Linked DNA regions of Homo sapiens: regions 1, 2, 3, 4, 5 and 6 are each linked to region 7. The links are contacts of gene promoters, found by promoter capture Hi-C in blood cells and fetal thymus (Javierre and others, 2016). All regions are on one chromosome and are shown on one strand. Each heading gives the region's core, a stretch centred on a gene start or on the middle of the fragment in contact. The rest is flanking DNA. Distances are from core to core; before and after follow the strand shown.

Region 1 (3,117 bases), core at 347-2,846, 1.5 Mb after region 7:
CACCTTTTAAAAATTTTTACATAGCCTGCGGCCACTGCAATTCGTTAATCCCTTTGGAAAATTGCTTAAGCCTGGCATGTTTTGTAATGAACTTTATCTCTTCACTACCAAAAGTCGTAAAAAGGAACTTCAGTGAGGAAAGAAACACAATTGATAATTGAATATTTCAAAGAGATCAGCATTTTAGAAAACTGGGTATGTATTAATATGCTATATCTGACATATGACATGAAAATGACATATATAATATAATTTTGTTTATACTATTATATATTTTATACATTTTGTGTTATAATACATTTTGAATATATGTATATATATACACATACATATATACACACACACAATATATATAGGAAAATAAAATTAAATATTATCAGAATGTTTATTTCTTGATGATGGGAATTTGAGTGGTTCTTTTTTTACTTTATTTCTATTGTTATTCATTTGGTATTTTCCAAATTTTGTTCAGTGATTTTTTATTACTTTTACAATGATAGACATTATGTTTGGAGGCAGAAAAAAGAAGGGAACAGACAAGAAACGTTCATTTGAAAATTCTAAATGCAGAACATACCTGAAGTCAAAGTGTCCCCCGTCACTGAAAAACCAAAGCCACCAATATCAAAGAAGCGTGGGCCCTTCCGCCCCCTACTGTCTATCTTCAGTAACTGTCCAGTGAGTCTCCGCCTTTTGTTAGCAGGAATCTAAGAATCTCCTGGGAAGCTTGCTGTTTGCAAAATTAGGAAATCTTGAGCTACATCCTCAGATAATCTGAGGCTGGATACCCTCAAACTATACTGTGAGAAACATCATCAAAATTAAGTTACATGACGTGATCACAGCTATAGTAATAAAATCAGAAAAAATATGGACATCATATTTAGAAACACAAATTGGCAACGAGATTTCTTTCAGTTTTAAAAAAGTGTATTAGTATATAACATAATATAGTATGTATTAAAATAATATACATTTAAGGGTATATAAATATATGCTTAGTACACATTGTCAGTATTAATATCAATACATTACCTTTTATACATATGTATGTGTGTTTGTTTGTGTATTTATGCACATGCAGCTTTATATTTGCCTATGTAGTTGTATATATGTAGAGTGCATAGTATAGTGTGGATGTGTGCGTATGTGGTATGCATATACCACACACACAGAGTCCTGCACATACACACACAGAGCCATGCATCGTTTAACAATGGGGATACATTCTGAGAAACGCATCCATAGGTGATTTTGTTGTTATGCAAACATCATAGTGTGAACTTTCACAAAACTAGACAGAAGAGCCTACTACACACCTACTGCTGCTAGGCAACAAACATGTACAGCCTGTTATTGTCCTGAATACTGTAGGCAATTGTAACACAATGGTATTTACATATCTAAACATAGAAAAGATACAGTAAAAATATGGTATAAAAGATAAAAATGATGCACCTGTGTAGGACACTCACCATGAATGCAGCTTTCAGGACTGGAAGTTGCTCTGGCTGGGTCAGTGAGCGAGTGGTGAGTGGATGTGAAAGCCTTGGACATTACTGTATGCTACTGCAGACTTTACAAGCACTGTACACTTAGACTACACAAAATGTACAAAAAAATTTCTCTCATCAATAATGAATTAACCTTAGCCCACTATAACTTTTTTTACAGTATAAACTTTTCACTTTGTTTTAACTTTCTGACTCTTGTAATTACACTCCACTGAAAACACAAATCCACTGTATAGCTGAACAAAAATATTGTCTCTTTTTATATCCGTATTCTATAAGCGCTCTTATATTGTTTAATTTTTTAATTTTTAAACTTTTTTGTTAAAAACTAAAACACAAACCACACAATAGCCTACACCTACACGGGGTCAGGATCATTATCACTGTCTTCCACCTACATTTCTTGCCCCATTGGAAGGTCTTCAGGGGCAACGTCACGCATTAAGCTGGCATCTCCTATGATGACAATGCCTTTTTCTGGATAGCTCCTGAAGGAAGTGCCTGAAGCTGTTTCACAACTGACCTTTTAATAATATATTAACATAAAGAGTACAATCTAAAATAACAATAAAAACTATAGCATATTAAACTAGTAACCTAATCATTTATTATCATTGTCAGGTATTATGTGCTATACCTTATTGTATGTGCTGTATTTTTATATGACTGGCAGTGCAGTAAGTCTGTGTACACAAGCATCACCACGAACACAGGACTAATGCATTTTGCTACAGTCTTACAGTGGCGACTGCCTGATGAGTTGGCAGGAGTTTGCCAGCTCCATTATAATCTTGAGGGATCACCATGGTATATGTGGTCCTTCGTTGAACAAAACGTTGTTATGCTGTACACGACTGTATGTACTTTTACAAATAATGCTGCATTTGTCTTTTTAGAAATTATCAAGATCCTAACCTGCGATTAACATCTGCATTTTAACTCTAAAGCTGATAAAAGCTTTTCCTCACTTTGAAGTTATTTGAAGTAGCAGGTTTTTTAAAAGATGACATATATAAGTTCTTAAAAATCATTATTTACTAATTTCAGCATTTCTTCTGAGCTAAGTTTAATATTGTAAAATCTCACAAGCAATTTATTTAAGGTCAGTTAATGACATTGAAGCCAAATTCCTTTTTAAAATACGCTCTCAGTTGCAATTGAACACAGTTACACGTGCCTCTTTGAAGGAAAACGTAGGCACAGTGATAAATGCAGCGTTTCCTTACCCATAACCAAATAGAAATAGCTGCATCAACATTCCGAGCCCAGGACAAATAGGGCTGAAAAGAAAACAAGAAAAAATCATCAGTTTGGCAGCAAATCCACTGTCACTATACTCCCTGGCACTTGCCTTTGGCCTGGAAAGCACTTGTCAATAACGGCTTCTTTGTTTTCTGAGACGTCATCTGTAAATACTGAAATATTGAAACCTAGTCCAGGCTTTGATACCGCATTCTTAAACCTGTTTTGAAAACCTGAGATAATTGCTTTAAAAATGCCTTCATCTATCTGTTATTTGATTTAGAAATACATTGGATTAGGTCTTATAAGTCAAGCAGAAACTTGTCTTTTTTTTTTTTTTTTTTTCTAGACGGAATCTCAC
Region 2 (2,719 bases), core at 35-2,534, 1.6 Mb after region 7:
TCCATAAAACTGTGGCTGCATAGCTTGTTGGTTGCAAGTAGGATAAAACCTTAGACCTTTCACAGCCCTTGACATTCCCAGTAGGGAGCTATGCAGTTCCTGTGTCTTCAGAGCAGCTTCATGGCTGAATGTGAATGACCTTAAATCAGCAGTGGGCTTTGAAATCTTCAGACGAACATCTTCATAAAAATGCAAAATGATATTATGAATTTAGGGGCTATGTATACAGCCTTCATTTTAAACTCAGTATCTTCATGCACTAAATGAAAAATCACTCTAATCAGTCAAAAGGCACTTTGGGGAGTACTCAAAATATGGGAGTAATATTCAAATCATAATTTTGCTTTATTATGATTTGTGAGCAAATCCAATAGTCATATAGATATTAATATTCCATGGGAGGAAGAGAGAGAGAGAAAATATATATATTCTGAATGAAGGAAGTTGATAGCAGGGCAGGAGCAGGCCATTAACTCCAGTCACTGTGGAGATTTTCTTTCCTTCCAATAACCTCAAATGCAGTTATTCTGCCATTTAATATCATTATTTTTATTCTGAGTGGACCATTCATCTTATAAATCGATTAGTTTGACTAATCATTAATTTTCCTGGTATTTGATTTTGTTCAAGTTACTCAGAAGCTCTTTGGCCCATCTCTCTTTCCAATCTTTCTATTCTTTCCCCCTTCTTTCCATTCATCATTTTCTCAATAACTTCCCTGGGAACTGCAAAGCAAATTATTTGGTAGCATACTTCATTAGGAGGGAGATTTGCATGAAAAGAGAACATTTTATTTAAGATTTGAAATTCGTGACTGTTCTTAAAGTCTTTTTGCTGTTTGATCACAATTAGAAAGCTAATGTCAGCTCCTTGATGAGAATGAGATGAATTTAACACAAAAATTCTCTGCAGCTGTGGACTGCAGGATGCAGCGCAGGCTCCTGCAACCTCTTGTGTCTAGTGGGTCCTGCTCAGAAGCTTCTTCATGTAAACAAATAACCCAAGAAAAACGATGGAGTTTTCTATGCAAATGCAGGGTCATAACAATTTCCTGAGATTCTCCATTCATAAATTTACCCCTGTGAGTCTCTCCTTTTTAGAAACTCTGTAACTACCACTGGAGCTGCCATACACTGAGAGGGCAACTACGCAAAAGGCTGACAACTAGACCATATGTGAAAATAATACTCTGGGCCGGATGCAGTGGCTCACCCCTATAATCCCAAAACTGTGGGACATTGAGGCAGTAGGATCACTTAAGCCCAGGAGTTCCAGACTGCAGTGAGCTATGATCATTCACTGCACTCCAGGGTGGGTGAGAGAGACACCCTGTCTCTAAAAAAAGAAAACAGTACTCTCATCCAGAAACTCCACTTTTGAGCAATCTGCCCAAAATGACCACCCCTTGATTAATAACTGACAGCTTCTCTAAATTTTGCCCTCACTCCCAACTAAGTAACAAACAGAGAAAACCAAATATGCTCTCCTAGCCAATCCCATAGGATGCTCCAATTCTAGGTAGCCTGCCTCCAGCTCCCCAAGCCAACAGCCTCTAGTCAGGGCACACTGAGCCTTCCCTTTTTTCCACTATAAAGCTTCACAGCCCCTTACCTGCCTTTCAGTCTCTGCCAAACACAAATGACAGTGCTGACTCCTCTGATCCAGATGAGCTCAGAATACATAGCCTTTGCCTTTCTTAGTTGGCTGGTCTTCATTTATTTCACATAACAGGAAGAGTCTATGAGTTACTAGTGGTTCTATAATAAAACCTCTTGATAACTAAGGTCTGAATCATTGCATTGCTTACAATGTGGGTTACTGCAAATTAATAAAAGACCGCATTGTTTCCCACTAGTTTGTATGTTTACATTGCCATAAAAAACACAAAAGTAAGGATAATGAAAATCATACTGGAACCAACAAAGTAAAAACTGACTGAGAATTTCATACCTCTACCCTACAGCCGACTCCCTCTTCTGGATATGAATGTCTCTCTCCTTTTGAGAATGGCTTTTTGTGGAGGTGGGCGTCAGGTGGCGACCACGTTGTATCTGAATCCTCGTTATTGTGCAGTCATCACAAGGCTTGCTCTCTTTGTGTTTGTAGTCTTTAATTAGTAAGCTTTATAGCTGTGCAAATTCGCAATCTTTATCCACCATTCTGAAATCCAAAATGCAGTAAAAACAAATAGGAAAAAAAAGAAAAAAAGATTGTCCGTAATGTGTTTAGCCACAGTAACTGACCTGAGCTAATGACAACCTATTTAGAGTCCCTGATTGTCACCGCCCTCAATTTCATACCAGTGGCCACAGAATCCATAATGAGCTTAATTACATGGAGCTGCCCCATACCTTGCTGGGGGGATTATATAATATACTGTTTTGTAATGTATTACCATTATAAAATCCAAAAGAAATGTAAAAAATCTGAATTTTGAAACACATAACACCCGGGATGTTTTGGATAAGGTTTAAGGAACATAACCCATTGACTGACTGAGCCCTGCAGTCCTTATTAACACAAGCATTATCTTGAGAGAACACACTCAGAATGGAAGGACAACCTAGATCTCGTTCAGCCCAGTTCCTCCCATTTCACATGGAGAAACTGAGGCCTAAGATGGCTCACCCACCAGGTTTCACACATTCTTATATGTCACAATCTGTAGATTTGAAAATCTGTCAACTCTTCAGCAAGGGTAGGTAGTTACTAAGACAAC
Region 3 (2,750 bases), core at 28-2,527, 1.6 Mb after region 7:
AGTGATCGCTGGATATATCTGGCTGATCAGCAGGTTTCTCAGTCCAAAATTCTGAGCATCTCATGTGGCATTATCTAAACAGCCACACAAAGCCAATAGGTAATGGAAATGGGTCTGGAAGATGACCAGCAAGTAATACCTTACCAAAAACTTTCAGTTCTGATGTTGATGAACAGTTATACACTCCTGTTCTCTCTTCCCTGGTGAGAAGGCCATTCCTAGACTGCTTCTCCACTCCACATATTAACGGCCCCTGGAAAGCCACTGTATTCATCTCTCCTGTGTGAAACCCCAACATTCAAACACTGACCATTGTTTTCAGACCAAACTGAAGTTCCGTTACACAGGTAGGCTGCTCCGTTAGCAGTCATTTGTCTACACCCTATACTTCACAGTAAGTTAATGATACAGCTCAAGAAATGCCTTTTCTGACCGTATCTTTTAATATATGGACCATATCCACCAAGTCAAACTTCAATTTCTATTTCCAAGTGCATATGTGCCACATTTTGGAGCAGTGAAGACATGTTAAAATGTGACTGAGAGGTTAAGTATGGCTAAAAAAATTAATCTTCTACTTTTTTCCTTGTTTCTTATTGAAATGGATTCCGTAAATATTAGCTGGAGAGGTAATTGCTTACTACAGTTAGAAATAAGACAATAAGTAGTTTAGGGAAAGTAATTATATTTATATAGCCTTTGCTTAGATTTCAAAAATTATATGTTTTATAGTTATGACTTTAGAATACAACTGCCTGCATCCTGTTTAGCTCAACGTCCAGATAACACCAGCAAAATGGGTTCTCCTTCATCAGTCTATTGGTAGCTCTCTCTTTTTCTTTAATGTATTCTTAAATACAGCATTGGAATTTCATAAGGACAATATTCTAGGAATGCCCCAAAGAAATATGTGCAATCTGACCTAACATCACATCTTTCGTGAATGACTTGGAAAAGGTAATGTTGTGACTGGTTCATTGTAATTCAGCACATTTAACCTACAGTTACAACAATCATTATTCCCAAAAATGTGTAAGATAGCCAGGGTATCAGAGAGTCTGTCCAGCCTGTTCCCTTAGCTACTGATACCTGTCAGACCTCACATCCTGATCTGAAATTGAAAAGTGTTACAATAACAACTACAGGTTGTCGTGTTGTTAGTTTTGTCCAGGCAAATATATGTATTTATAGCCTCTAGGATCCATGCAGGTACCATAGTCTTGTAACCCCACCCCTCTGTTCACCATTGACTGTGTAGAACAGTGGCTAAGACCACAGGTTATAGAGTTAGAGACTTCCTTCTGATACTTCCTGGTGGAATGACAGTGGACAATATCTGTAGTATCTGTAAAGCCTCAGTTTTATCTGCTTTCAAAATGGTAATAGTATTATCTACCTCATAAGTTGCTTATGAGGATTAAATGAGATAATATATATAAGGCATAACTTACAGTGCCTTGTGGTTAGTAATTACTCGTGAAATGTTAGCTATCATTGCTGTCATTATTTTAATATACAACCAAGATTAACATTATGTGAGGCCCCACTGGCAGGTCAATTCCCTTCAAATATTATTTGGCTATTTCTGAGTTATTGACTCTCATCTTCATAAGAATCAGTACCTAAGGTTTTAACAAATAGAGATATTTTATTTGTATAAATAATCATCTCAAATAAATTTACTACTTGCTGTCTGAATAAATCCTGGTTTTAAAAATGACTGCTGGAAAATTTGCGATTTATACCAATATCAATATAATAGTAACTTTCCCTAAACATCCAAAATGTTGATACTAAAAATATAACTTTTTTGCCATTTGGAGTTTTCAAAAGCAAATCTATTTGGGTAAACGGTGGTCTAAACCTGTTTGGACCAAATAAAATCATAAAAATATTTAAACCATTTACTTCTTCAACGAAGCACATTTGTGAATAAAACATTGGCAAATATTAAATTAGATCTCTTTATATAATTAATGACGAGAGAAAACTAGCAAAATGTTAAGGGAAACATTATTTTTTATATAAATATAGAAAGCCTGAGAAATACATGTTTGGATAGAGTGAGACATTTCACTTTATGTCATAAATACCATGTTTTAATGTTTCAAAATTTCAATTTGAAAGGGGGAAATATGTAATGTTTCTGCCAACAGCACTTACATAAATTTCATGCATGCTTGGTCTATTCCTTCTAAAATGCATTTTAAAAGGAAGATTTAAAAAATACGAAAACAGCATGCTTATTATCCACAGTACCTTATTTATAGGCTTGCTCCACAAGTCACTGTGAGACCACAGCCTGGAAATGATTTTTCTTGTGCTTTTTCTTTATCTACCACAAGGAGGAAGATGTCATCAGCCATATCTATAACATGGCAAGAGGAACAAAAATTAAAAGCTGTGGCTTATGATTAAAGGCATCCTATAAAATATGTGCTTGCTGAAACGCCATCGGCTAACTCCAAATATGTATGGAACTAAGTGTAAAGTTATGGCTGGCAAGTTGCTTTGTGTCATTTTCTTGTCGACGCTCAACATGCAAAGTAGCACCAGCACTCTGTGCAAATAGAACAGCAATGATACGGCAAAATAAGGAAGGGCTGGCTGGATTAGCAACAATGATACCAATACACTAACATACTAATGCACCCGACATTCTAATACCCAGGGGCATGAGGGCGTGGTCAAAATTCCATAGACTCTTGAATCTACTATAAAAGCACACTAACTTAGATTACTTAAGTGGA
Region 4 (2,734 bases), core at 126-2,625, 1.7 Mb after region 7:
CAGGCTGGGGTTGCTTAGTGACAGGGCTGTGGCTTGGATGCAGGTCTCCTGACACATGGTTTTTTTTGTTTTGTTTTGTTTTGTTTTCACACATCTCAACTCTCCTTCTTCGCAGCCTCCTCATCCAGAATGGATCATGAGCTGCAGTGAACTTTCCTTCTGCCTCTCACATCCTCGAGTGCAGGACTTGCCTCTGGACGAGAGCAACATGGTTATTCCCAGTGACACGGACTTCCTGGACACGTGGGAGGTGAGCTGAGCCACACCACCAGGCAGCCTCATCCTGTGTGGGTCTCCACCCAGGATGCAGTGAGCCCTGAGCTGCTTGTGTTCAAAGACATCAAGGTTGTCTACCTGAGATGTGGGGTTTGTGGAGCAAAAAAGGAATCAATACCCGAAGAACTCAGAGACCTCAGTGACTTTCTTGTTACCTTTGGTTTGGTATGGTGCAGTTCTCTTGACACATTTGAGGGGTAGCTCATTATAGACCTCACTTTTTTTCTCAAATATTTATTTATTTTTTTATTAAAAACCATATTTATTTCAGAAAATACAGGAGAGTTCTTCTGCATTAAACTAACATTAAAAATTTTATTTTCCTGGCACCCAGCAGTAACCACTGTTAATGTTTTATAGTTCCTTTTTCTCTCAAGCATTTCAGAATGATAAAGTTGGCAGCATGGAAGCTCAGGCTGGGGAGGTGAGACCAGTGTCGGGGAAGGTTACCAAGTGTCAGCCCATTTCCAGGGTTCAGACCAAAAACAGCCCTTTACTGCAGGGGCTTGCAGTAAAGACTTGAGCAGGAAATTAAGGGGGTGGTGGATTTGAGAGGTTCCTGGAAGTTGACCCACAGGCTGGGGTGGGTCTCAGGCTTGGGCTCCAGCATGGCTGACCGAGCACGTGTGGTCTTACAGTCTTGCTAACCATCATGTGGGATGGGACATCACATTTGAGGCCCAAGAAGAAAGTAAGCTTAAGCTTAAGCTTGCTGAGGTTAGGACAGAGCTTGCTGGGTGAAGCTCTCCAGGGAGGAGGCCAGAGGGAACCCTCGGACAGGGAGGAGTCCCAGGCTAGGCTCCCCCCATCAATAGAAGACAAAGACTGACCTAAGGTATCTGAGATGTCAGGACCAGGGCCCATGGGCCTCAACTCTTTCTGTCACAATGTTTTAGGTCCTAAAAGATTTGGGTTAAACTCTAGGGTGCTCATGTAGCACCAGCGAGGTTCCGGTGATTGTTGCAGAGTTGAGGCAGTAACTAACTGCTGCGTGTTGGCCCATTGGTCACTCAGGACTTGCTGCTGACTACGGACCCTGGCACGAAGCTATGCTCTTCCTGAAGCTCAGGGGCAGCCTGGCTTGCTGGTCAGTGACCAGCTCAGAGCTTTAGGTTGCTCTGCCCTAAAGTGTCTTAAAATAGTAAGTGGAGAAGGTGGGATAGGAGAATGGTGATGTATCCGTGTGCTTAAGAAGGTCAGTGTCTCAGTGGAAAGAAAGGTGAACAAATAAAATCCGCAGCAGACATGCTTGCCAGACATCAGGAGGAATAGGAACAAGAAGAGCTCACATGTGTCGAGTACTGGACGCCAGCCTTAGCTGACACTTCCTGTGATTCCACATAACCCCTAAACATCCCCGTGGCACAGGCCATGTAGACCTGTCCTGAAGCTGAGAAAATTGGGGCCAAGTGAGGCCATGCAACTTGCCCAGCATCCTCTAGCCAGAAAAGATGGGACTGAAATCAGACCTTGAGTGCAGAAATGCTTTTGAAGCTTCAAGTAAAATATTGTAAAAATATTGGGTCCAACCAGTTTTAGAATACCATACAGAACTGCTGAGGGACGTAGATTGTCAGTGCAGTAGACAGAAGCTTCACACCCAGCAGAGTCGTTCTCTTATAGGCCATGGAGGACCTGGTGATCACCGGGCTGGTGAAGAACATCGGGGTGTCAAACTTCAACCATGAACAGCTTGAGAGGCTTTTGAATAAGCCTGGGTTGAGGTTCAAGCCACTAACCAACCAGGTAAGCCGATGGAAGCATCAGAGAGTTTAACCTGTGTGGCTGGTCCCCCAGCTGCCACCTCCACAGGGCTCTTCTGGAAATGGAAGAATGGGTGAAGCACAAAACAGGCCTGTTCTCCTCTGGCAGCACTCAGAATGGTGATTAAAGGCAGCAGCTAGGCAAGTGGCTTTCTTGAAGGTGCATCTGGGTAGATGGTACTGTTGGCAGGCAGGGCATGAGCTGGTGCTTGGCCCTCCATGTGCAGTGCAGGCAGGTCACCAGGTGTACTCAGAAGCAGTCAGGGTCCTGGCAGGTGCCTCACCCTTATCCAGGAACATGGGCCTCCCCTCTACCTCTTCCCAGCCTGCAGACTGCAGCAAGAAAGAGTGGATGACTAGATGGCTTCACGCGAGGCTCACAGGCTGCTGAAGGTGATGCAGGCACTTCGTTTTTTTAATGCAGAGAAAAGACTTGTGGGGAAATAACTATTGTATTTTCTAGACTAGCTTTGTATGTTCAAAGATCATTTATACAGTACTTAAGCTTTTTATTGAAGAGTAGAAGTGCACATGTGAAAATGGAACTGTATAAATTCTCATAAACTGAGCATAGCTCTGGGACTAGCATCCAGCTCAGTAAACAGCACGTCCAGTGCCCCTGTAACCCCTGCCGAGCACAGCATCATTCCCATTCCCAGCAGCTGGGATTCACGTCTGAACTTTACACAGGTAAA
Region 5 (2,821 bases), core at 74-2,573, 1.6 Mb after region 7:
CACATACACACACACACCAACACATGCACAGACACACAGACACCCTCAGACACACAGAGACACACACAAACACACACAAACTCATGGACACACACACAATGACACAGATGCACAGACTCATTCCAAATCTTTCCTCTTGCCTTGCACTTTTATGATTAGTGAATTAAATCATAACCCACACCATTACCCAAGCCAGGAACCAGTGAATATTCCTGGCTGTTACTCCTCTCTTGAGCCCCACAGTTGCTGCAAGGAGTTGTGTCCTGCTGATGGCTCCCCTTCCACATGTCTCACCACCTTCTCCTCTCCTGCACACTCTGAGATTGTTTAGTGCAGGCCTGTACAATTGCACACAGGTGCTGCCTGTCACCCCAACAGCAGGCTTGTTCTCTCCATCTGCACCCAGAGAGAGGCTTTGCAGCTGGGGGTGCGAATGTGGCAGAATTTCCATCCTTTCCAACACACATTCATTTTATGGCCCAGAATGTGTTCTCTTCTCTCTTGGTGAATGTCCCAAATGCCTGTGAGCAGAATGTGTATTTGCTTCAATTGGGTGTGGTCACTAATGTCCCGGGCAGGGTAGAGTTGTCCAGCTCTTCTGTCTTTCCACAGATTGTCTAGGCACTGATTCTATCCATTACTGTGTTGAAATCTCTAGCTAGAATTGCAGACTTATTTCCCCTTTTCAGTTCTATCAGCTTTTGATTCCTGTATTTTGAAACTCCAATATGAAGCCCACACTCATTTAGGATTAATATGGAAGCCAGCCTTTAAATAAGAATTTTATCTTAAAATTAATATCACTCTGTCATCTTAAGAAGATGTGAGGCCTGTGAGAGCAGGTACTGTGTATTTTGTGTCTGTATTCTTTCTGTTTCACACTGCAACCATAATCGATGATGAATAAATAATGTTCCCTCTTGAAGATCTGGTCCCTGTCTCCAGGGCAGTGCTATGTAAAAAAAAAAGAGCAAATTCCTGCCTTCTAAACACTCCTCCACACCAACAAACACACTGTGCTAGGAAAGCAGCAGTGATGAAGGTGCTGGGCCTCCGGTGGAAAGGTAACACACATTTCCCATCCTCGGGAGCTTGCAGCACCGGCAGGCGGGCCGTTACACAGATAACACAGTATGCTTCTATGCCAGGGTGGACCCAGGAGTCCGTCCTCCCTGTCACTTACGAGACTGGAGTCCTGGAAAAGTTACTGAACTTCTCTGTGCCTTGGTTTATCCATCATGAAAGTCGGGTTAAAAAGAATACCCCACCCCTAGGGTGGAAGTGGGACTTGCTTGAATTGAAACAGTTGGTTTTTAAGTATTTTGCATAGCTGTTATTATTAAATTAACATCAAAAAAGTTGCCTGGTTATTTTAATATGGTCTTCACATAGGCAGTACAGCCGGCCAGATTTAGCATTTGCATTTATAACTGAGTCTCTCTTCTGCCTCCGTGAGACTTCCCAGGAGTTGCTTTGATGCTGCAGGGAGTCACACATCTCCAGATGCATCACTGGTGACTCAGCAAGCACCTGACCTGGTCCGTTACACATGGGGCTTATGTGCTTAACTCCTATGCGATGATGATTCTTCTCTAGTTCTTGGGGGTCGTTCCCTTTCTCCTACTGTACTGGCTGTTTAAAGTCAGCACTGTATGAGTTGCATACATAAGCCAAATGTCATTGACTTCTTCTTTTTTTTTTTTTTTTTGACAGTCTTACTCTGTTGCCCAGGCTGGAGTGCAGTGGTGTCATCTCGGTTCATTGTAACCTCTGCCTCCTGGGTTCAAGCAATTCTCGTGCTTCAGTCTCCAGAGTAGCTGGGATTACAGGCATGAGCCAACGTGCCCAGCTAATTTTTTTTTTTTTGTATTTTTAGTAGAGACAGGATTTTGCCACGTTGGCCAGGCTGGTCTCAAACTCCTGGTCTCAAGTGATCAACCCACCTTGGCCTCTCAAAGTGCTGGCATTACAGGCATGAGCCCTTGAGCCCAGCATAGATGTCATTGAAATTCAAGGGGGAAATCATTTGGAATGATCACAGCGACTGGTCCAGAGATGACTAACAGCTTAAAATGACCCCACCTGAAACAGCGGCGATCAGTGGAATGTCCAAGTATATATATATATATTTTTTTAATGAAGCTCTTTTGGACCAGAAACCCTAAGAATGTTTAGTCTGGAGTTCCATAATTATAAAAAAAATCTTCTGAAGTTAATCACCGTTTTTATCTGAAACCATACTCTAACTCAGTAACTCTTTCTCAGGGTTTACTTTCTCTTGAGCCACAAGCATCCATTTGTCCCCTACCAAAGGGACTAGACTTTCATGATGGATAAAAGGACACTAGTGCCAGGTAGCTTCTGCTTCTAAATTTTGGTTTAAAAAATGAAACATCTCCTTTTAGATATTCTAAAAAGTCATCTCCCCTAAAATCATGAAGCCTGGTTTATAAACTTTATAGAAGAAACTAGGTCTTTGAGGCTAACACATATTAGTGTATTAAAAAATACGGTAAACCAGCCGGGCACAGTGGCTCACGCCTGAAATCCCAGCACTTTGGGAGGCCAAGGCAGGTGGATCACTTGAGGTCAGGAGTTTGAGACAAGGCTGACCAACATGGTGAAACCCCGTCTCTACTAAAAATACAAAAATTAGCCAGGCTTGGTGGCATGCTCCTGTAATCCCAGCTACTCGGGAGGCTGAGGCACGAGAAAGGCTTAAACCGGGAGGCAGAGGTTGCAGTGAGCAGAGCTCCCATCACTACACTCCAGGTTGGTCAACAGAGCAGGACTCTGTCTCAGGAAAAAAAAAAAAAAAAAA
Region 6 (2,904 bases), core at 204-2,703, 1.5 Mb after region 7:
CACTGTCTTAAAATAATTTTCTTCCTAGTGTTATAATACTTCCTTATAGGAATTTTGATTCTGCAAATAAATTTTACATCAATTGATATTTGCAACATTATTTTAATATTAAATAAAATTATATTTTAGTTTTGTTTAATAAAACAACATCAAGATTTGCAACAAGTACTATTACCACTTTCTCACAAACTAATTATAATACCTATTTGGTTGCCATGTGGTTTAGGCACTCATCTCAGAGAGTCAGTTGTGTATAGGGTAGTGATTCTGCCATGGTACCTGTCTTCATTATTTTCAGCGAGATCCGTAAACTCTTTGTGACTGAGTCTCACCTGTTGAACTAACCAGTAACTGTTGCTCTGGTCCACTGAAAAACTAAGAGTCATTTGTATCACGTTCTAATCGCCTTCATCACAAGGGCTATCTTTCCTGCTTTGAAACTTAAATGTTCATCATCAAGCAGTTTCTTGTGTGAGGTACCTACCTTGATAACTACGTTAAACATTTCCCTATTTTTTTCAGTCCTTTAAAGATTCTGCATATTTACTGGGTGTAAGATAATTTTCTCAGCATGAAAAGAAGAATGTGAAATGGTTGAGGTTTAAATACCCATAAGAGAAGAGGAGATAAGAGACTAGTTACTGTCTTAAGCTTATACTTGAATTTCAAGTAGATACTTGCAAAATCTGGGGACTATTGAAAAGCTACTATTAATAATAAGAGAAAATGCCCCCATATAGGGACAAAAATACTCCAAGTGAAGTAGCCATCTGAATGGGACTCAGTTGGGGGAGAAAATGCTTTTTACAACAAATTAAATTCTACTTCGATCTTCGCACAAATTTGTAGTCCAAATTAATATTATAAAAGAATTGTGAAAATCCCAAGTTAATACATGAAGAAGAGACATATTTTGGGAAGTTGAAATATTAGTGGCTTCAGCCAAAGACAATGCAAAAAAGCATTTTGTATGTGTTCCACTTCAGGCATGGCCAAAGATGCTCCTGCCAGGCCAATTTCCCCACAAATAACCACTCGAAACCTGGATAAATTTTTTGAATAGTAGCCTGGAGGCAGTGCAGATTGAGCAGAGGCTGAAAGATTATAGGAGGGAATCAATTTGGAAGAAAGAATGGCATGGGGTAATTTTCCTGTGTTCTCAATTATTTTAGCCTCAATGCAGATTGCAGTCAGCATTAATAAGTAAATCCTTGATAGAAAACCCATACTTTTTCTGTTCTAAAGAACTGGAGAACAGAGTTTGAAATAATCATTTCCACCAGAAAGTGAGGGAGATATTCCAGAAAGGAGATGGCCAGAGACGGGGAGCCCAGATCCCATGCACAAATTTCAGCCAATTAACTAACCAACCTTAAACCATGCATACACAAGGCAGGATCAAAGCACTTTGGAATGAATTTTGAGCTGTGTTCAAAACACAATGTTCATGAGTCTAAAATAATTGTCCGCTAAAATTTAGAAAATCAATACTCTATTAAGGATTATAACAGGATTCAGTCTCTACATCTTCAGAGTATTCAAGAAACAATACAAATCCAGTCAATAGGTGAAGAAAGAATGGATATTTCATTCATTCTCAAGAGAAAAGACAACCTATGGAAAACAATACCCAAATGAACATATGTTGAAATAAGCACATAGGATATTATTTTAACTATTTTAACTACACTCAGTAGTGTAAAAAGAAATATGCTCTTAATAATCAAAATACAAATAGTTTCATCAGCAAATAGAAACTAGGAAAAAGTCTCAAACAGAAATGCAAGAATCAGCCAGGTGCAGTGGCTCACACCTGTAATCCCATCACTTTGGGAGGCTGAGGTGGGCTAATCACCTGAGGTCAACAGTTCGAGACCAGCCTGGCCAACATTGTGAAACCCCATCTCTACAAAAAATACAAAAATAGCTGGGTGTGATGGCATGCACCTGTAATCCCAGCTACTTGGGAGGCTGAGGCAGGTAAATCGCTTGAACCTGGGAGGTGGAGGCTGCAGTGAGCCAAGATTGCACCACTGCAATCCAGTCTGGGTGACAGAGTGAGATGCTGTCTCAAACAAAAACAAACAAACAAAACAAAACAAACAAGAAATGCAAGAAGGGAAAAATACAATGTATGCAGTAAGCACACACTAATTGGGCTTCACAGAATAATAGAATTGACAAAGAAAGGGGTCAGAGAGATCAACAGAACTTTTTAAAATCTGAACAATACCAAGATTGATAAGCAAAGTGAACAAAGCTTCATGGACCTGTGAAATAATCTCTGAAGTTCCAATATCCATGTAACTGCAGTTCCACAGCAGAAGAGAAAGAAAATGGGACATACAGACACACAATTATTGAAAAAAAAAAACTGAACTTTTTCAATTAGGTAAAAGATAAATTTACAGATTATAGAAGCTCAGTAAATTCCAAGTGTGAGCAAACATCATTAAAATGAGCAAGTATGTAATAGTCAAAGTATTTAAAGCCAAAGAAAGAATGTTTTCACAAGCCAGACAAAAATGGCATATTACATACATGCAAAAAATGTTTCAAATATCTTTTTCTTGTCAGAAATTTTAGATGTGAGAAGACAGTTGAAAAATATTATAAGGTAATGCAAGGAAAGAAACTGCCAACCCACAATTCTACATCCAACAAATGTATTCTTCAGAATATGAAGGCAAAATAGAGACAACCTCATACGTTCCACCATTGTGTTTTGGAAGCAGATAATTTGTTTTCTAGTTTTACAGTTCTGTGGATGAAGGGACTTTGCCCCAGTATGGATGAAAACTAAGAGTCTCACCCATACCTAATTTAGATCATTTCAATGATGAGATTTGTAACTTTTTGAGTTGATATTAATGTGACATTTTTTAGAGTTAACGCTTAAATGGG
Region 7 (2,831 bases), core at 93-2,592:
CAGGGACACTAATTTTCTTTTTTGAGACAGATCTCACTCTGTTGCCCAGGCTGGAGTGCAGCGGTGCAATCTCGACTCACTGCAACCTCCACCTCCCGGGTTCAAGCAATTCTGTCTCAGCCTCCTGAGTGGCTGGGACTACAAGTGCTCACTACTACGCCCAGCTAATTTTTGTATTTTTAGTAGAGACAGTTTCACCATGTCGGCCAGGCTGGTCTTGAACTCCTGACCTCAAGTGGTCTGCCCGCCTTGGCCTCCCAACATGCTGGGATTACAGGTGTGAGCCACCGCGCCCAACCTATTTCTAATAATTATTCTCACCTGAATGAGATGGCTCACACCTGTAACCCCGCAATGCGAGAGGCTGAGGAGGGGGATCAAACCAGCCTGGGAAACAGAGCAAGATCCCTGCTCTTAAAAAACACGTAATTATTATTCTCTCCAATTGTATTATATGTCGTATGGGATTTTCTACATTAATGTATCCCACCGAAATATTTATTTTAAAGATAATATGTACAGGAAGAAAAAACCTATTCAGTCACTGGCAATATTATGAAGATATGCTATAACCAACATTTGCTTACTGATTTAGCAAATTTCAGAATTATGGGACAGAAGCGTTTTAAGAAGTTACTTATCAAGGACATGATAGGAAACTCCTGAGCGGTAAGGCCAGGCCGAACTCATGCCACGGACGCCCCGTGCCTCCCGGCCTGGGCCGGCAGCGCTGAACTATTACCTTATATTAAACACGGGCTCGTGGATTACCATGAACACTAAACTGCTTCGTCATTTTTTTCCCCATAAATTGAGTCATTAAAAAAACAAAACAGTTCAATTCCGGGAGGCGTCAGTTCTCTGAACACAGCGAGACTTTAAGTATGGGCTGTGGGCGCCTCGGGTCTCTTAAGGACTCGGCCTCCCAACAAAAATGAACTAGGAGCAAAGCTGTCAGCGAGAACCGCAAATGCCGACCCCATTTACTACCCCCGTTAAAGCCCACGCTAATGGAGGGCCCCGCCGGGAGCGCCGCGGGCAGGCCCGGCCCCCAGCCCGGGGCATCGCCCCTGGGAGTAGGAAGGAGCTCCGAGGTCCTCCGGCCTCGGAGCCTCGGATGCGGGAGCTCCAGGAAGGGCTCGGGGTGCGGGACGCCCACAGCTTGGGGAGCTGCCAGCCCCGGGCGCAGGGACGAGGACCCCTACGCCTCCGGCCTGCCCTGGACCCTCCCCTCCCGGGTACCAGCGCGCCGAGCGCCTCCCGTCGCAGCGTCTCACCCGCCGCTCAGCCGCCTCAGCACACACAGGCCCTGCCGCCCGCCGCAGCGCCACATTGCGCATGACGAGCACCTGGCTGGCGAGGAACCCCCTCTTAACCCGACGCAGGGCGCGGGGCGGGGCTTGCCGTGACAGCTACCACTCCTATTGGTCAACGCGAACAGCGACGTCCTCTGCGATAGGCTGTAGGTGAAAAGGGTAGGCCTCCACTGCTCTGGGACGGGCGGGAGGGCGGTGCGGACGGAGATGGGCGGGAGGGGCGGGGCCGACGTGCCGAAGGAGGCGGGCAAGGCGAGGGGCGTGGTACGGGTAGAAAGGGGCGGGGCCGTCTTGCCGAAAGGGGCGGGGTTCGGCCAGCAGCAGGATGTGGACAGATGATAGGAGGGGGAAGTGGGCAGGCGAGAAGTGGGGCGTGGCGAGAGGCGTGTGTATGCAGATGAAGTGGGGCCTGGTGAAGGGCGGGGCTGCGCTGGTGAAAAGAGGGGCTCCTGGAATGGCGTGCTGTGTTGGGTGGGGCTGTGCAAGTGATGGGAGGGGCTTAGCGAGGGGTGGCTCTTTGCAGGTGAGGAGTGGAGACCAGTGGGAGAGGGGATTGCAAGTGAGCTGAGCCTTGGGGGCGGGGCTTGCAGGTGACAGGGTGGAGCCTAGTGGGCGGGGATGCAAGTGAGCTGGGCCTTGGGGATGGGGCTTGCAGGCGATGGGGTGGAGCCTGGTGGGGCGGGGCTGCAGGTGAGCTGGGCCTTGGGGGCGGGGCTTGCATGCGAGAGGTGGGTCCTTGTGGGGGCAGGGCTGGCAGAAGTGGGTGGGGCTTGGTGATGGACCGCGGTGTTCAGGTGAGGGTAGTGGCCTGGTTGGGGGCTGCCGGAAGCTGGGCCAGGTGAAACTTGGTAGCCCTCTCTGGCCTTGGTGTGGGCGTTGGTCCTGTTTGTAGGGCTGAGCTGAGCTCCAAAGGCGTTCTGCTGCCCCGCCAGGCCTGAACCTTGGGGTCTGGGGGCTTCTTGGATGAGATCTCAAGGCTGCATGGCAGGTCCCAGGGCCAGGGCCCCACGGTGTCACACGTATCACGGATGGCCGCCAGCGAAGCACAGCACAGCTCCGAGCTGCTGCATGGGAGCCTGTGGCCCCCGCTGCTGCCTCCGCTTTCCTCTTCGTTTCGTGTCTAGGAAGATGCACCTGAGCCCCCTGACATTGCCCAAGTGCCCAAGGGCCCTTCTGGGAACCCCCAGAGAGGCTGAAGGAGGCCCCCGTAGGAGTGGGTGGTTCTGCACTGTGGGCCAGAAGGGGCCCTGGGATTAGCCACGCTTGGAGAGGGTGGGGTAGCCCTTGGAGGAAGTCCGCACCAAGTCTGACCTTCCGGGTTTCTCAGAGCCTCTCTTCCTTCCTCCCTTCACCTTCTCCCTCTTTTTTTCCCCTTGTATCACGAATACAAACAGGCTCAAATCTCCCTCTGTCTCCTAATGGGCTCTGAAAAAAAAAATTAAAAATTAAATGGTAAGTAGATGGCTGCAGTCGGCTTGAACAAGCTAAAACTTTGGAAGCAATGTGGAAGGTAAT

The links. Contacts are between HindIII fragments. The CHiCAGO score rates a contact against its expected background, and 5 or more counts as called.
Region 1: a fragment that was not itself captured here is called in contact with the fragment with the promoter of PITRM1 in region 7 in 7 of 17 cell types (monocytes, naive CD4 T cells, fetal thymus and 4 more); the score reaches 7.3 in monocytes.
Region 2: a contact is called between a fragment that was not itself captured here and the fragment with the promoter of PITRM1 in region 7, in 1 of 17 cell types (monocytes). The highest score is 9.1, in monocytes.
Region 3: a fragment that was not itself captured here is called in contact with the fragment with the promoter of PITRM1 in region 7 in 1 of 17 cell types (M2 macrophages); the score reaches 6.3 in M2 macrophages.
Region 4: a contact is called between a fragment that was not itself captured here and the fragment with the promoter of PITRM1 in region 7, in 1 of 17 cell types (total CD4 T cells). The highest score is 5.6, in total CD4 T cells.
Region 5: a contact is called between a fragment that was not itself captured here and the fragment with the promoter of PITRM1 in region 7, in 8 of 17 cell types (M0 macrophages, monocytes, M2 macrophages and 5 more). The highest score is 11.4, in M0 macrophages.
Region 6: a fragment that was not itself captured here is called in contact with the fragment with the promoter of PITRM1 in region 7 in 1 of 17 cell types (naive B cells); the score reaches 5.5 in naive B cells.

Annotation. Positions count from the first base shown.
Region 1 is chr10:4,656,126-4,659,242 of GRCh38, forward strand. MANCR (mitotically associated long non coding RNA) reads right to left here. Exons shown (of 4, transcript NR_024475.1): 3 at 1,476-1,600. It overlaps LINC00705 (long intergenic non-protein coding RNA 705), which reads left to right and starts at 31. Exons shown (of 3, transcript NR_015425.1): 1 at 31-195. The HindIII fragment of the contact is 1,745 bases long and covers 725-2,469 here.
Region 2 is chr10:4,762,355-4,765,073 of GRCh38, forward strand. It overlaps LOC105376375 (a long non-coding RNA gene), which reads right to left. Exons shown (of 3, transcript XR_930599.2): 2 at 1,951-2,160. It overlaps LOC105376374 (a long non-coding RNA gene), which reads right to left and starts at 1,690. Exons shown (of 3, transcript XR_930598.3): 1 at 1,612-1,690; 2 at 1-179. The HindIII fragment of the contact is 617 bases long and covers 977-1,593 here.
Region 3 is chr10:4,782,523-4,785,272 of GRCh38, forward strand. No RefSeq gene overlaps it. Among named protein-coding and RNA genes, the nearest start is that of AKR1E2, 42 kb to the right of the region's middle. The HindIII fragment of the contact is 3,177 bases long and covers 1-2,750 here.
Region 4 is chr10:4,835,560-4,838,293 of GRCh38, forward strand. AKR1E2 (aldo-keto reductase family 1 member E2) reads left to right here. Exons shown (of 10, transcript NM_001040177.3): 4 at 116-250; 5 at 1,900-2,022. Among named protein-coding and RNA genes, the nearest start is that of AKR1E2, 11 kb to the left of the region's middle. The HindIII fragment of the contact is 786 bases long and covers 983-1,768 here.
Region 5 is chr10:4,811,630-4,814,450 of GRCh38, forward strand. No RefSeq gene overlaps it. Among named protein-coding and RNA genes, the nearest start is that of AKR1E2, 13 kb to the right of the region's middle. The HindIII fragment of the contact is 3,258 bases long and covers 1-2,821 here.
Region 6 is chr10:4,673,515-4,676,418 of GRCh38, forward strand. All of the region lies in intron 1 of MANCR (mitotically associated long non coding RNA), which reads right to left. The region is part of intron 1 of LOC105376373 (a long non-coding RNA gene); the gene reads left to right. Among named protein-coding and RNA genes, the nearest start is that of MANCR, 3.1 kb to the right of the region's middle. The HindIII fragment of the contact is 1,609 bases long and covers 650-2,258 here.
Region 7 is chr10:3,171,440-3,174,270 of GRCh38, forward strand. It overlaps PITRM1 (pitrilysin metallopeptidase 1), which reads right to left and starts at 1,343. Exons shown (of 27, transcript NM_014889.4): 1 at 1,278-1,343. The coding sequence starts at 1,333. RefSeq lists silencers at 868-1,707, 1,998-2,157 and an enhancer at 2,356-2,831. The HindIII fragment of the contact is 12,209 bases long and covers 1-2,831 here.